Regions from separate parts of the Homo sapiens genome. Here regions 1, 2, 4, 5 and 6 are each linked to region 3. The links are contacts of gene promoters, found by promoter capture Hi-C in blood cells and fetal thymus (Javierre and others, 2016). All regions are on one chromosome and are shown on one strand. The core of a region is centred on a gene start or on the middle of the fragment in contact, and the rest is flanking DNA. Distances in the headings are between cores, read along the strand shown. Region 1 has its middle 93 kb from the start of CHD1L. Region 2 overlaps LINC00624 (long intergenic non-protein coding RNA 624). Region 3 holds the start of GJA5 (gap junction protein alpha 5). Region 4 overlaps LINC00624 (long intergenic non-protein coding RNA 624). Region 5 overlaps LINC00624 (long intergenic non-protein coding RNA 624). Region 6 has its middle 62 kb from the start of CHD1L.

Evidence for each region. The method cuts DNA at HindIII sites, captures the fragments that hold promoters and counts their contacts. A CHiCAGO score of 5 or more calls a contact.
Region 1: a fragment that was not itself captured here is called in contact with the fragment with the promoter of GJA5 in region 3 in 2 of 17 cell types (erythroblasts and fetal thymus); the score reaches 6.8 in erythroblasts.
Region 2: a contact is called between a fragment that was not itself captured here and the fragment with the promoter of GJA5 in region 3, in 1 of 17 cell types (fetal thymus). The highest score is 5.3, in fetal thymus.
Region 4: a fragment that was not itself captured here is called in contact with the fragment with the promoter of GJA5 in region 3 in 2 of 17 cell types (erythroblasts and fetal thymus); the score reaches 6.8 in erythroblasts.
Region 5: a contact is called between a fragment that was not itself captured here and the fragment with the promoter of GJA5 in region 3, in 10 of 17 cell types (fetal thymus, activated CD4 T cells, total CD4 T cells and 7 more). The highest score is 8.1, in fetal thymus.
Region 6: a contact is called between a fragment that was not itself captured here and the fragment with the promoter of GJA5 in region 3, in 5 of 17 cell types (erythroblasts, total B cells, activated CD4 T cells and 2 more). The highest score is 5.7, in erythroblasts.

The regions. Positions count from the first base shown.
Region 1 is chr1:147,333,898-147,336,597 of GRCh38, reverse strand. No RefSeq gene overlaps it. Among named protein-coding and RNA genes, the nearest start is that of CHD1L, 93 kb to the right of the region's middle. RefSeq lists an enhancer at 1-395. The HindIII fragment of the contact is 890 bases long and covers 962-1,851 here.
Region 2 is chr1:147,447,296-147,449,995 of GRCh38, reverse strand. All of the region lies in intron 3 of LINC00624 (long intergenic non-protein coding RNA 624), which reads left to right. Among named protein-coding and RNA genes, the nearest start is that of LINC00624, 69 kb to the left of the region's middle. The HindIII fragment of the contact is 415 bases long and covers 1,190-1,604 here.
Region 3 is chr1:147,759,178-147,761,877 of GRCh38, reverse strand. It overlaps GJA5 (gap junction protein alpha 5), which reads left to right and starts at 1,276. Exons shown (of 2, transcript NM_181703.4): 1 at 1,276-1,379; 2 at 2,607-2,700. The coding sequence starts at 2,640. The region is part of intron 1 of LOC102723321 (a long non-coding RNA gene); the gene reads right to left. The HindIII fragment of the contact is 9,872 bases long and covers 1-2,700 here.
Region 4 is chr1:147,411,486-147,414,270 of GRCh38, reverse strand. All of the region lies in intron 3 of LINC00624 (long intergenic non-protein coding RNA 624), which reads left to right. Among named protein-coding and RNA genes, the nearest start is that of LINC00624, 100 kb to the left of the region's middle. The HindIII fragment of the contact is 943 bases long and covers 1,010-1,952 here.
Region 5 is chr1:147,466,197-147,468,896 of GRCh38, reverse strand. All of the region lies in intron 3 of LINC00624 (long intergenic non-protein coding RNA 624), which reads left to right. Among named protein-coding and RNA genes, the nearest start is that of LINC00624, 50 kb to the left of the region's middle. The HindIII fragment of the contact is 1,006 bases long and covers 839-1,844 here.
Region 6 is chr1:147,303,598-147,306,297 of GRCh38, reverse strand. No RefSeq gene overlaps it. Among named protein-coding and RNA genes, the nearest start is that of CHD1L, 62 kb to the right of the region's middle. The HindIII fragment of the contact is 1,677 bases long and covers 576-2,252 here.

The DNA.
Region 1 (2,700 bases), core at 157-2,656, 430 kb after region 3:
CCAAAGTCAGCTCTTCCAGAGACATTTCTATCACAAAGTACAAGCATTTGCAAGTCTATGTGGGAACTCCATGAATTTGCAGAATGCTGTTTGATAAAGAAACCACTCAGCCCTTAACAGCATGTCCACGTTACCAAAGCATTTGAATCAGTTCACCATAAGGCAGTAAGCTCTCCTTTAAAAGGCTCATCCTTCACAGTTCTTGGCTGTTTGAATTTTCTCTTTCCTTCGTCACCCTTAAACTTAATTACACAGCAGCTGAAAAAGAAGACCTCTCTTGACCAAAATTTAAGGATAAAAATGTGGGATTATACAACAAATAACTATAATAAAATGTGGTCACTCTAAAATCCACACAAGAATAAAGAACACAGGAAAAAGGGGAAACACAGGAAAAAGGGCAATTTATTTTGTCCTAGGGACTTGGAAGAGGAAGAGTTGGTTAAAGCTTCATAAAAGAGAAAATGTTTCAGCTGTAATTTGTCTTCCTCCTCTATTCCTAAATGATAAATTATATTCTTTTTGGGAAATTAAAAAAATACATTTTTTAATTACAAGAAAAATATATATTTACAGAAATTACAAAAGCACCATAAGAGTTTGGATTCCAGTCCTCCACTCTTCACGGGTGAGCAACCATGAAGCTTCTGAGGACACTCTGTAATCTTGAGTACAGGGGTTTTGGAAACCAAGTGATGAAGACAGCATTTGTTATAATCAGGCCTTTAAAAACAAAACACTGTAAAGAACACTAAATGGGAATGGGAAAGTGGGAAGAGAGGGAAACTGTCCAGCTAATTCATTTGTAACTCTTGCCAGCCTCAGTCCAGACTTGCCAGAGGATCTTTGCTAGGTTATGGATTTTAGGTGTTTTCATTAAGGACTATCTGGAATAGAGCCTCATTCCTCCTCTACCCCAGAAGGCAACAGTCACTGATTCACACTTCATATCCCTTAAGCTTGCATGACTTAATTTCTTTCTTCCCATTAAGTTAGAATTAAAAAAAAACTCTTATTAGTTTCCTCCAAGGGTTTTGGAAAGATAAAGGAAACTGTCAAGTCTTAAGAGTGTCATAAACCTTGGGGACACACATGGCACTCAAATACTAGAGATGATGTCTAATGATACCATTTTCAAAAATGTCTTTCATTATTTTGCCATGTCCTGAAATCCCATAAAAGCATAACAGAAATGAGTTTGGGATTTTACTAAATTAAAATTTGTAAAGAAGGAGGAAAAGGATGATAATGATAATGTCGTTGATTTTCATTATTGTTCATTGCAAATTCCACGAAAAAGTAAAATATTAGTCAAGATGCAAAATTAGATGACCCTGTAGTCAAGAAGGCAAGGTAAGGTGCTTAAAATTTAACGAGACTGATGAAAGCAGAAAGAACATCAATCAAAATCTCAAGTTGTACATTGGCAGCACTTTCTGTGCTATCTCCCAAGTTTTTCTAGGGCTCCACCTATTACACTTGGAATCACCGACATTGCTGAAAGCATTTTAAAGGCATTAATTATCTAACTTACTGTCTTAATTACCTATGCTCATCTCAGGAGAATTGCAAAGGGATAGGCATCAGGAACACTTCTTTGGTGAGAGAAAACCAAGTGACAAAAGAGAAGCGTTTGTCCTAACACATCTAAAAGGCAGGTTGGAAATAACAGGTAGACTCAAGTTTGGTTCAGCCCAAATTAAAAAAAAATGCCATTCTCCTCATGCATTGACACCAAAATATTCACCTTCACCTACAAAATGATATTTTTTTCTGGCATGATTTTTTTCCCTTCGTTCAGCCTCAGAGATAATACTAATGATTACCAGTGATGGTAGTGAAAGCCAAGCTTAATCACCATAATTGACAATTAAGTTGGGTAACAACACAGAGACAGGTGATTTCACACAAGGCTAATGAAAATGGGCTATTAAAATCCACACACGTTTGGCAGCAATTATGAGCTCCTGGAGCCATTTGCTTTGAAATGTGCACATTTCACAGGTGGCTGCCTGCCAACAAGACAACTTTGAGCAGGACCGAGAAAGCAAGAGGAAAAGACAGAGTTGCCGGAGATTTTCTTAAGTGCCATTGCTTTTCAGTGGCTTGCTGAATCCTTATCACTACAGGCCAGATATTTTAAAGCCAAAGAAATATGCAAAGTTCACAGCTGCAGAGAATGACAGACATCCCATTTTCCTATAGAACCACGATGGAATTGGCAGAGGACAAGGGAGTGGGCACTAGCGAATACAGAAGGGCAAAGTAGAGAGGATTCCATGAAATAAGTGCTGGACCATGTAAGAGAGGCCTGGAGCCTGGATGTCTTGTCTGGAGTACACAGAAGATACTTAACAGTTTTCACAAAATGTGAAATGGAAGTAATAATCCCTGCTTCCCAAATATGATAGTATGGTTAAATGAGTTCAGTTCCTTGAAGGGCACTTGAATTCAGAGGCTGAGGTTACTTTGCTGCAGTTTCATGCATCTCCTAGCTCCCTGCTCTTACTCTCTTATATCAGGATGCCACCATTCTGCTCAAAGCCCCTCTCCTTTAAGCTCTTTACTGTCTGAATATGCCAGTTAGTAGGGAAGTTAGTCAACTTTTTTTAATGACAGGAAACCAAATAACAAACAGTGGTGAGAACTTGCCTGAAAATAGACTGGGAATCACATCTGTATTCAAATACAATAGTCGAA
Region 2 (2,700 bases), core at 148-2,647, 310 kb after region 3:
GCCACAGTAAACATACGTGTGCCTGTGTCTTTATAGCAGCAAGATTTATAATCCTTTGGGTATATACTCAGTAATGGATGGCTGGGTCAAATGTTATTTTTAGTTCTAGATCCTTGAGGAATCACCACACTGTCTTTCACAATGGTTGAACTAGTTTACAGTCCCACCAACAGTGTAAAAGTGTTCCTATTTCTCCACATCCTCTCCAGCACCTGTTGTTTCCTGACTTTTTAATGATGGCCATTCTAACTGGTGTGAGATGGTATCTCACTGTGGTTTTGATTTGCATTTCTCTGACGGCCAGTGATGATGAGCATTTTTTCATGTGTCTGTTGGCTGCGTAAATGTCTTCTTTTGAGAAGTGTCTGTTCATATTCTTCACCCAGTTTTTGATGGGGTTGTTTGATTTTTTTCTTGTAAATTTGTTTCAGTTCCTTGTAGATTCTGGATATTAGCCCTTTGTCAGATGGGTAGATTGCAAAAATTTTCTCCCCTTCTGTAGGTTGCCTGTTCACTCTGATGGTAGGGAAACTGATGCTTCAAGTTACCTGGCTACTATATTAGGGACTGGGATTTAACCCATGTCCATCTGACTCTAAAGGCCATACTCTTTCCAATTCCCTGTTCTGCATTCCATAGTTCCATAAAATAAAGAGAGAGAGAAAGGTCCAAATAAGAAAAATACCTACCTCTTTTCAATCTCCTGAGAATTGGTTCAATCAGCAGCAACAACGAAACAAAACAAGTCAAAACTAAAGTTAATGCTAACACTGATCAAATGAATTTCTTGGAATTAAAAAAGGATGAAATTATTGACTTATTTTTCTACCAATTATATTTACCCTATCAGTCTCATGATGAGACCATATAGTATTTATTGGGCACATATTTCTCAATATCTGTGTCTGCCTGAAACATGACATAGATTTGCATTTTTTAACCTGTGTTAACTTTGACAAGAGGGTAACTCTATGGAGATCTCACAGAAAATTGCACTCCTCCCAAGCCTATGCCAGAGGTAGCATAGAGCCACTGGCAAATTCTGAGCCCCCTCTCATGAACACATATGTCAGAGTGGAGAAAGACTGGCCTGCAATGCCCTACCTATGAGGTGCCTTAGGTCCTTGACCCTGGTATCACAGAGCCTGATACTCCCAGTGGCATCCAAGCTGAACGGGGACCCAAAGCTTGGGGCTCAAAGACTGTTCACGAACAACTCAGGTGGAAGTCAGGGGAACAGGAAAGATATAAAATCCAGCAGTTTAGTCAGACCTACAGAGAAAGGTTAAGAAGGGACATCTCAGCTGACCTCTGGAGGACATTTCTGTTCAACCGTTCTGGTGCAAACATCTTAGACACCTGAGGAAAAGAACAGCCTGTTGGGGCATAAATGTGGCGCCATGGCCCTGTAAGAGCAATGGTCCCAATGGAGACCATGTGGCACGTTCTGCTCAGTTCCCAGCCAGAGAGCAGCAATCCTGCTTCTTTCTTTCCCAATCAGTAATCTCTAAGGCAAATGATTGGGGATGAAATTATTTACAAATAACTTTAAATGTATATTTATAATAAAAAGAATCACAGGTAAAGTAAATCATTCGCAAGCTTCAAGCCTTTATTATAGTCAATAAATTGCTTGCAACACACCTCTCCCAAACATCAATGTGTTGCCACATAAAGATGAGAACCCCTGGTTAGCGAATAAATGTTTCCAAATATATGTTTTGTATGAATTTAATCAAATTTCTTTAAACAATTATTTTGTCTGCACCTATTGTTGTACTGTAATGTGTAATAGTGGAAATATATCCCTATGCTTTCTCCCAAAAAATTATTCCTTTCTGTCCTGCTTGTCAAAAATAGAATACTAATACTTTGCATTTTGTATTATGTCATAAAAATTTTTTCACTTATATTATCTCACTTAAATAACTCAGGCATTCCTTAGGTTCTGGAGTGGATAATTTCTAAAGTAAGTTCTACTCTAATTCTATAAGTTGTACTGTTGAAATTTATACACACAGAAAAGATGTTAAAAATACGTCATTACATAAATGTTACCAAAATGGTAATAAAAATATGCACAATATACAGTATGTTATTAAGCGGTAGGTATATCCTGACATTGGGCAGTTTTTCTCAATTGTGATGATAAATAACCTACGTACCACTGAGTCTCACTGAAAGGCTTGGATTTCTGGCTTTGGGGGTGGGGCTTGTACTCCCCACACTACTATGGAAAGAATACTCTTTGGTACAACTGGCTATTGAACTCCATGCATCATGAGGGGGACCTGCCACTCCAGGAGCTGCCTGCAGCGTAGTCATTGCCTAACACAGGAACCAAAAATCCTCTTTGATCACTCTATGATTCCTTCTTCTAGGATGGCCATGTATAAGTGCCTGTGGACTGTCCTTTGGGGACTATCCATCTAATCTCTCTCTAAGTAGATGTTCTGGGACTCCTCCAAGTACAAACACAACTCAAGGGCAGCAGCTTGATTAGAAAGTGTAGAAATGAAGAGCAATTAGTTCTCTCTTGGAATCATTAAGGTCATGGCAGTCATCTTTTCCCAGCATGCAATGAAGAGGTCAGCTTTTTAGCTCTTTGGAGACACTCTGAATGGAATTTGGTACTGGATTTGTTGTCAGGAGTTGTGGTGGCTAAAGCCTGAAAGACAGCCTTGTCCTCCTCCTCGTTAG
Region 3 (2,700 bases), core at 27-2,526:
CTCTCCCTTGTCCTTCCCTTTTCTTCTCTTCTTTTTATTCCTCCCCTTCTCTCCCTCCCTCTTTTTCTCAGACATTTACCATAGTTCAGTCACTGCACGTGTGTGGCTGACCCTGAAGGTGCTGAACACTGTACATGTGCCCAGAAGAGAGGACAGACAATTCAAACTCTTATCTAATCAGCCATTTTCCTTTTGAGCACATGCTCCACAATTTTCCACATTTGGAGGCTGAAAGAGGGGGCGCTTCGCCACCTAAGGAAATGGGGCAGATGTCTGATCACAAATGACAGGAAAGGCCTCAAGACCTGCATGGGTCTTTGATATAGAGAGGAGCAGAGATAAGATGCTTTCCGCTCACTCAGGAACTCCCTCATTCCCAGGGACACTGTATACTCTCAAGTTTGGGGACCTGGGGTCTGAGAGAATACAGGGCCAGGAGGTTGGTCCCTGTCAAGGCAACAATCAACTCAAGAGCTGAGGAAGCCTGGACTATGAAATGCACCACCCTGACCCCATCTTTCCCCATAAGCATGAAGAATGTTCAGACAGAAACCAGGAGCACGTTGGCAGCAAAGATATGACGGTCAAAGTTTGAATTTGACAAACCTCTAAGGACCCACCCAAATCTGAGGTTTATGATTCTAAGAAAGGAATATTTATGCTCCATTCCCTCCGAGACGTTTGTCATCCTGTTGGTTAGGAATGGTTAGAGGCTTAAACTGTAAGAACATTCGTTATTCACTAAGTAAGAATTCTGGAGGTAGGGAGCCTCAAGAGTTGCTTCAGAGGCCTCAGGGCACTGGTTGACATTTCTGAGATTCTCTGGACAGCTTTAGACATCTTGGTTCATACAACTCTGTCCACAGGCAGGAAGCGGTGGGGCTAAGTGAGGCTCACTCCTATTCACCGGGGGATGGGAGCACTGTGAGTAGTCTCCCTCCTGTTCACCAGGGGATGGGAGCACTGTGAGTGAGGTTCCCTCTTGTTCACAGGGGGATGGGAGCACTGTGAGTGAGGCTCTCTCCATTTACTGGGGGGTAGAAAAACCTTTTCTGGAGCATTCCCTCTACTTTAGATTCTCCCCATACCTCACCTACCAGAACTAACTGCAGAGGAGATTAAGAAAGTGATACCTGGCTTTTTCACCCTGCCAATGGGAGGCAGGCAAGAAACAGGGAATTGGTTTTCTATTGGGTAGGAAACAACAGTGCCTGTCAGCCCCTCCTTCATTCACTCAACTAAGATATATTAAACACCTACTCTGGGCCAGGCTCTGGTGATACAGAAGAAAAGACAGTCTCCATTTTCAAACAGTCCCTCCTGGGAGAACACAGACAGGCAGAGGATTACAACACAAGGCAGCAAGCACTGGGAGACGAGTAAGTGTCCCGGGGGCCATCACAGGAGCTGAAGAGGCTCAGCTTGAGGGAGGAGGGAGGGCTGGAGGAGGCAATGACTGGGTTAAGTTTTGAAAGGTAAATGGGATTCAGCTAGGGGTGAGGGGACATGTAGGGGTACAGAAGGAGGGCATTTGGGAAGACTTGGCATGGCTGGACAAAAGGAACTCATGTGGACAGGCAGGAACAGGCTGGAAAAGCAGACAAAGGCCAGATGAGGGAGGATTTTGTAAGGGACATAAAGTTTTGGGACATTTATTCTGGACATAAGGGTGGGCAGATCTGTGTGTGGGAACCTTATTTAAATGAGACACAGAAACTTAGCAGCAGGGCGAGCTGAGCTGTGTGGCTGGAATGGCTGTGTTGCACCGAGGCATGGGAGATCAACATTGCCTTACCAGCCAGGGGAAGTGAGCACTCATCTGTGATACTGTTAGCTGGTGTGACCAAAGCACACTTTTTGTTTGCCACCTCCCAACACAGCTGGTCCATGCTGGATGGTTCTGATTTTTGCAGAGTGCTTCCTGAGGGGCCAAATTTGCCAATCCCATCCTCACTCTTTCCTCCTCCACCTAGTTCTGCCCTCTGGAGCCATAAAAAAATTCCTTTTCCATCCAACAGCCATTTAAACATTTGGAACAGTTGTGGAATGATTTTCAGAATATCACACACCTCATATCATTTAATCCTCAGAATTCTCTGGTGTAGCTATTCCCATCCCCATTCGATAAATGAAGAAACAGACTCAGTGAGGTAAATGCCCAGAGTCACATTTGCAGACCCCAGTCTTGTGTTCTTTTTAATACTCGTGTTTCTCCAGGTGCGGTCCCTCACCGCCTGCATCAGAATTACTTGGGCTGCTTGTTGTAAATCCAGATTCCTGGGGGCCATCCCAGACCTCCTGAAGTAGAATTACTGGGGCAAGAGCAGAATCCATATTGTAACACACACCACGATTTCTAGATCCGTTAAAGTGTGGGAGCCATGCTCTAATTTTGCTAATATGGCTACTTTGAATCTTCTCTTTCTTTTTATTTTTGCTGGGAAAGGAGAGCGAGCTTTTCGTTGGTTGCTTTGACTTCTAAGTTGCATTTTCTTAAAGAACCCATTGGATGGATGGATCAGTGGAATCCCAGAACATGATAGACATTCCAGACCTTCACAGAACATCCTTCTTCTTTTCTCTCTTTCTCTCTCTCCCATTTGCAGAAGTTTTGGCATCTGTTCCCTGGCTGTGCCAAGATGGGCGATTGGAGCTTCCTGGGAAATTTCCTGGAGGAAGTACACAAGCACTCGACCGTGG
Region 4 (2,785 bases), core at 232-2,731, 350 kb after region 3:
CCCTTCTTTACTTTCCTGTAATTGAAGCCCCTTGAATGCCAATCCAAGCGTTCAACTGTCCATTTTAAGAATTAGGTTTTTGCCGGGTGCAGTGGCTCCCACCTGTAATTCCAGCACTTTGGGAGGCCAAGGCAGGCAGATCACTTGGGGCCGGGAGTTCAAGGCCAGGCTAGCCAACATGGTGAAACCCCGTTTCTACTAAAAATATAAAGATTAGCTGGGCATGGTGGCATGTGGCTGTAATCCCAGCTACTTGGGGGGCTGAGGCAAGAGAATTGTTTGAACCCAGGAAGCGGAGGTGGCAGTGAGCCAAGATCATGTCACTGCATTCCTGCCTGGGTGACAGAATGAGATACCTTCTCAAAAAAATAAATAAATAAATAAATAAATAAATAAATAAATAAATAATCAGGTTTTGGAACTTCTTCCATAATGGAATAAAAGTAACCAGATTTGCTTTTCTGTCTTAATAACTAAAAACTTGGGGGAAAAGATAAAACAAAATGTGTTTTCAGATATTAAACAATGAGTGGAATGGGACAGAGAGTACTGAGACAAGGGAAACAAATGAGGTAAACCCTATGAATGCACCAGCTCACTGCATGGAGAGGGTGTCCAGGCCACAGCACAAGGAGGGGGTACATAAGTGGAGCCCAGTAGTCTCCCTTTATTAATAAGAGAAAATTCAGAGTTTGGGGGAGATCAAGGTACCTAGAATTTGCGTGGCAGAGCCCTGGAGAGGAGATGCACATAAAAAGAGAGTCTCAGAGATCCACAGAATTCCCTCTTCAGCAGAATGCTAATCAGCACATGAGAGCCAAGGAAAAGATTAGAGAGGATCAGTTGGAATAATCTGGAGAGCTCACGCAGGGCTGGGAATAGTTAGTCTTTGCACCAATCAGTGCGCAAAGAAATCCTAACACATACAAAGTAGACTCATTAGATGCCTTAGTAGAGAGGCAAAATTGACACTAGGCAAAAGGCTATTCTAAGCTCACCTAACAAAGCTTAAAAGCTAGTCTTAAAAGGATCAAATTATTTCTGAGTAATTTAACTGTGTCCAAGAACAAAGTCCAAAAATCCTTAAAGGAATACTAAAACTTCTTCATTTAGCTATGTAAAATTCACAGTGTCTGGCGTCAATCCAAAATTTTCAGGCATACAAAGAAGCAGGAAGGGAATACAACCTATATTAAAAAGAAAATATAATTTAAAAGACTCAGTAATGACACAGATTATAGACTTATAAAGCAATGATGTTAAAATAGCTACTATAAATACATTTATATGTTCAAGAAAGTAGAGGAAATTATGTATATGACAAGGAGAGACATTGAAGATATTAAAATATTGAAATTCTAAAGTAAAAATATAATGTTTGAGATACAGTATACACAGGATGAGATTAACAGCAAATTAGATATAGAAAAAGGTTAGTGAATGTGAAGTCATACTAATAGAAAATATCCAAAATGAAATAAGAGGTTGGGCACATTGGCTCATGCCTGTAATCTCAGCTCTTTGAGAGGCTGAGGTGGGAAGATTGCTCAAACCTAGGAGTTTGAGACCATCCTGGGCAACATGGAAAGACTCTTATCTGTACAAAAAAATATGAAAATTAACCAGCCACGTGCCTGTGCCTGTAGTTCCAGCTACTTGGGTGGCTGAGGTAGGAGGATAGCTTGAGCCCTGGAGGTCAAGGCTGCAGTGAGCTGTGATCACGCCATTGCACCCCAGGCTGGACAACAGAGTGAGATTCTGTCTCAAAAAATAAAAAAATAAAAGAAAAAAGGGACTGAAGAGAAATGAGCAGAACATCAGTGAGCTTGGGGACAGCAAGTGCCTTAATATGCATTGGAGCCCAAGAAAGAGAAGGGAACAAAAAATGTGGAAAAACAGTAGCCAAAATTTCCAATTTTATGAAATTTTTAAGCCCCCAAATTCAAGAAGCTTAACAAACCCCAAACAAGGCACAGAAAGAAAACTACACCATGCAAATCATAATCAAATTGGTCAAAACTAGTGATAGAAAATTTTAAAAGCAACTAGGAAAAAACGCACATTACATGCAGAAGAATAGAGATGAGAATGACAGCTGACTTCTCATCCAAGCAATGCAAGCCAAAAGACTGTATTGTTTATTTGTTTCCTTCCAATGTTTTAAGGAGCAACAGCTTGAAAGGAAACAAACTTGTCAACCTAAAAGTCTAACCAACATAAATATATTTCAAAAACAAGGTTAGGGACAACACTTTCAGAATGTCAGGGTGAGGACCTCAGTGAATCCTCTTCCCACAAAAGCAACAAAAATACTGGCAAAACACCAATAGAAACCAACCATTTTAAAACTATGAAAATTAACCAAAGGCACAGAACACACTGAAAAGCATTCACTCAAATATAACTGCCGAGCTTCATAAGAACAGTGGGGTCTATGGTGCTTTAACTTGGAACTATTCCCACGTACCCAACCCCTAGTACCAGGGTGGTAGCTGTGAAGAGCTGGCAGCCAGTGAAGAAGTTTGACCTGTTTTGAGCTTTGTGAAAACCCCCATCCTCAGAGCACTGTCAATATTTTTATAATATTTCTCCTTGACTTGTACATGGCCATTCTGTCCGTCTTCACATTGTCCTCCCTGTGTGCATATCTGTGTACAAATTTCATTTTCCTGTAAGATTACCAGTCACATTGGATTAGAATTCACTCTAATGACTTCATTTTAACTTAATTACCTTTTTTAAAACCCTGTTTCCAAAAACAGCCATGTTCTAAGACAGTGGGGGT
Region 5 (2,700 bases), core at 92-2,591, 290 kb after region 3:
CTGATCCTCTTCCTCCTCAGTAGGTGGGACCTCCTAACCAGGGTCTCCAGCCACCTCCTACAGGCACTTTTGGGCTGGCAACAGGCCCATACCTTCCTGGGATGGAGCTTCCAGAGGGAGGGGCAGGCTACTGTCTTTGCTGTATTGCAGCCTTTACTGATGATATCTCCACTTACTGGAAAATTCAAGGCAACTAGGAACTGCAGAGGGACCCCAGCATACCACAGCAGCCCTATGGAAAACTGGCCAGAACAAATGGGTGCCTATTCCCACATCTCCTCACTGGGCAGGTTCTCCAGGGCTTCCAGCCACCCACTGCCAGAGCTATTGAGCCAGTAGCAACTCAGCAACTCCCTGGACAGAGCCTCCAGGGGCAACTGAAAGCTTCCCTGCCACTGCCTCTGCAGTAGAACTGCCCTTGCTGCCCTCAGACTAATGAAGGAACAAAGGCTTTAAGTGCTTTATCCATACCTCCAACAGGCTGCAGTCAGTTTAAGAAGAGGAGGTCAGTCCATCTTCCATCTTTCGGGTGGAGCCCTCAGGAGACAAGCAAAAGACCCTTGGTCAAAACCACTACTAAGGTCCCTTCCTCTGCTGCCTCTGAGATGGGGAAGAATCATAAATGCTGAGATCATCCCAGAGCTACAGTGGGCAGTCCAGGAGTGACAAGCCGTGATCTACAGTCAGCACTTAAGGGGGAGAGGAAGCCACGTTCCCAGAGGATTGAGAGGAAATATAGCTGCCACTGTGGGGAACCATAGGGGAGCTACACAACTGAGTGAGTCTACCAACTGACCCGTAAGCCTAAATGCCACCTACTGGATCACACCACAAAGCTTCAACTTAAAAAAATGCCTCACTAACATACCCCCCTGTGAAACCAGAGACAAGAAATCAGCTTCAGATAGAGACCCTGCACAAGGCCTCAGCCAGGTGAAAACATCCAGAAGTCTATTGACTGTAATCAATCTATACTACAGTTAAAGGAACACCCATATGCAGAAATGAGAAAGAACGAATGCAAGAACTCTGGTAACTCAAATGACCAGAGTTTTGTATGGCCTCAAAATGACTGTACCAGTTCTCCAATAAGAACTGGCTGGGATAACAAATAAAATTTAGAATATGGATAGGAATGAAGATCATTGAGATTCAGGAGAACAGCGAAACCCAATCCAAGGAAAATAAGAATCACAATAAAGCAATATAGGAGCTGAAGGACGAAGTAGGTGGTATAAAAAAGAACCTAACAGGTCTGACAGAGCTGATCAACACAATGCAATAATTTCACAATGCAGTCACAAGTATTAACAGCAGAATAAACCAAACTGAAGAAAGAATCTCAGAATTTGAAGACTAGTTCTCTGAAGTAAGACAGACAAAAATAAAGAAAAAGGAATAAAAATGAAAGAACAAACCCTCTAAGAAGTATGGGATTACGTAAAGAGGCCAGATCTACACAAATCATTGGCATCCCTGAAAAGGAGAGGGAGAAAGCAAATAACTTGGAAAACATTTCAGGATATCATTCACGAAAACTTCCCCAACCTTGCTAGAGAGGCCAATAGTCAGATTCAGGAAATACAGAGAATTTCTGCAAGACTCTATACAAGATTATCTCGAAGACACATAATTGTCAGATTTTCCAAGATTAAAATGCCAGAAAGAATGTTAAAGGCAGCTAGAGAGAAAGGGCAAGTTACCAACAAAGAGAACACTATCAGGCTAACAGTAGATCTTTCAGCTAAAGCCCTGTAAGCCAGACAAGATTGGGGAGCCTATATTCAACATTTTTAAAGAAAAAAATCTTCAACCAAAAATTTCATGTCTAGCCAAACTAAGCTTCCTAAGCAAAGGAGAAATATCCTTTTCAGATAAGCATATGTTGAAAAAGTTCATTACCACCAGACCTGCATTACAAGAGATTTTGAAAGGAGCATTTAACATAGGAAGGAAAGATTGCTACCAACTAATACAAAAACAGTCTTAAACACATAGACCAACGTCACTGTAAAGCAACCACACAAACAAGTCAACACAATAACCAGCTAACAACACAATGACAGGATCAGATTCACATCTGTCAGTAATAACCTTCAATGTAAATGAGCTAACCGCCCCCACTTAAAAGGCACAGAGTGGCAACCTGGATAAAAAAGCAAAACCCAATGGTATGCTGTCTTCAAGAGACACATTTCACACGAAATGACACCCATAGGCTCAAAATTGAAGGATGGAGGAAATCATTTGCTTAGTAAGGTTGTAATTTGATTACTAAGGTTGTAATTTGATTAAAGGTTGTAATCCTAATTTCAGGCAAAACAGACTTCAAATCAACAAAGATGAAAAAAAGACAAGGACATTACATAATGGTAAAGGGTTCAATTCAACGAGAAGATCTAACTATTCTAAATACATATGCACCCAACACAGGAGCACCTGGATTCATAAAGGAAGTTCTTAGAGACCTACGAAGAGACATAGACTTCAACACAGTATCAGTGGGAGACTTCAACACTCCACTGACAGTATTAGACAGATCATTGAGTGTATTGACTGTAATAGGCAGAAAATTAACAAACACATTCAAGACCTGAACTCAACATTGGACCAGATGGATCTGACCTCTATACAACTCTCCACCCCAAAACAAGAGAATATACATTCTTCTCATTGCCACATGGCACATACTCTAAAATT
Region 6 (2,700 bases), core at 165-2,664, 460 kb after region 3:
TCCCTCTTTTTCTATTGATTGGAATAGTTTCAGAAGGAATGGTACCAGCTCCTTCTTGTACCTCTGGTAGAATTCGGCTGTGAATCCATCTGGTCCTGGACTTAAAGTCTGTTTTATCAGAGACTAGGATTGCAAACCCTGCTTCTTTTGCTTTCCATTTGCTTGGTAAATATTCCTTCATCCCTTTATTTTGAGCCCATGTGTGTCTTTGCATATGAAATGGGTCTCCTGAATACAGCACACCGATGGGTCTTGACTCTATCCAATTTGCCAGTCTGCGTCTTTCAATTGGGGCATTTAGCCCATTTACGTTTATTGTTAATATTGTTATGTGTGAATCTGATCCTGTTGTCATGATGTTAGCTGGTTATTTTGCACATTAGTTGATGCAGTTTCTTCATAGTGTTATTGGTCTTTATATTTTGGCATGTTTTTGCAGTAGCTGGTACTGATTTTTTCCTTTCCATATTTAGTGCTTCCTTCAGGAATTCCTGTAAGGCAGGACTGGTGGTGACAAAATCCCTCAGCATTTGCTTGTCTGGAAAGGATTTTATTTCTCCTTCACTGATCAAGCTTAGTTTGTCTCGATATAAAATTCTGGGTTGAAAGTTATTTTCTTTAAGAATGTTGAATATTGGCCCCCACTCTCTTCTGGCTTGTGGCGTTTCCGCAGAGAGATCCACTGTTAAGTCTGATGGGCTTCCCTTTATGGGTAACCTGACCTTTCTCTCTGGCTGCCCTTAACATTATTTCCTTCATTTCAGTCTTGGTGAATCTCACAATTATGTGTCTTGGGGTTGCTCTTCTCAAGGAGTATCTTAGTGGTGTTGTCTGTATTTCCTGAATTTGAATGTTGCCCTGTCTCACTAATTTGGGGAAGTTCTCCTGGATAATATCCTGAAGTGTGTTTTCCAACTTGGTTCCATTCTCCATCACTTTCAGGTACACCAATCAATCGTAGGTTTGGTCTTTTCACATAGTCTCATATGTCTTGGGAGGCTTTGTTCATTCCTTTTCATTTTTTCTCTAATCTTGTTTTCACGCTTTATTTCACTAAGTTGATCTTCAATCTCTGATATCCTTTCTTCCGCTTGACCAATTTGGCTACTGATACTTGTGTATGCTTCATGAAATTCTCATGCTGTGTTTTTCAGTTTCATTGGGTCATTCATGTTCTTTTCTAAACCGGTTATTCTCGTTAGCATTTCCTATAACCTTTTATCAAGGTTTCTTAGCTTCCTTGCATTGGGTTAGAACATGCTCCTTTAGCTCAGAGGAGTGTTATTACCCACCTTCTGAAGCCTACTTCTGTCAATTCATCAAACTCATTCTCCATCCAGTTTTGGTCCCTTGCTGGTGAGGAGTTGTGATCCTTTCAAAGAGAAGAGGCATTGTGGTTTTTGGAATTTTCAGCATTTCTGCACTGGTTTTTCCTTATCTTCATGGATTTATGTACCTTTGATGTTTGATGCTGAGGACCTTTGGATGGGGTTTTTGCATGGACATCCTTTTTGTTGATGTTGATATTATTGCTTTCTATTAGTTTTCCTTCTAACAGTCAGGCCCCTCTTCTGCAGGTCTGCTGGAGTTTGCTGGAGGTCCACTCCAGACCCTGTTTGCCTGGGTCTGCAGAGCCTGCAGAGCCTGCAGAACAGCAAATATTGCTACCTGTTTCTTTCTCTCAAAGCTTCATCCCAGAGAGGCACAAGCCTTACTATGAATACTGCTGTAATAAACAAGTGAATGCAGGTTTTCCTTTGATATATTGCTTCATTTTCCTTTAGTAGATACCTAGTGGTGGGACTGCTAGATTAAATGGTAATTCTATTTGAGTTTTTTGAGAAATCTCCATGCTGTTTTCCATAGTGGTTGTACTAGTTTACATTCCCACCCACAGTGAATAAGAGTTCCCTTTTCTCTGCATTCTTGCCAGCATTTTTTTTTGTCTTTTTAATGGTAGCCATTCTGACTAGGGTAAGATATTATCTCATTGTGGTTTTGATTTGCATTTACCTGATGATTAGTGGTGTTAAGCATTTTTCTTTTACCTCTTGGCCATTTGTATGTCTTCTTTTGAGAGTTGTCTATTATGTCCTTTGTCCACTTTTTTATTCTTTTGTTGTTAACTGTTGAGTTGTTTGAGTTCCTTGTGTATTCTGGATATTAGTCACCTGTCAAATGAATGGCTTGCAAATATTTTCTCCCATTTAATAGGTTGTCTCTTCACTCATTTATTCTGCTGTAGAGAAGCTTTTTAGTTTAATTAAGTCCCATTTTTCTGTTTTTGGTTTTGTTCCCTGTGCTTTTGAGGTCTTAAGTCATACATTCTTTGCCTAGAACAATATCCAAGAGAGTTTTCCCTAGATTTGCTTCTAGTATTTTTATAGTTTTGGGTCTTATATTTAAAGTCTTTAATGCACTTTGAATTTACTTGGTGTATGGTGAGAGGTAAGGGGTCCAGTTTCATTCTTCTGCATGTGGCCATCCAATTTTCCCAGCACTATTTGTTGAAGATAGTCTTTTTTCCCCAGTGTAAGATCTTGTTGGCTTTGTTGAAGATCAGCTGGCTGCAAATACATGGCTTTATTTCTGGATCCTCTATTCTGTTCCATTGGTCTATGTGTTTATTTTTATACTAATACCATGATGTTTTGGTTACTATAGCTTTGTAACATATTTTGAAGTCAGGTTATGTGATGT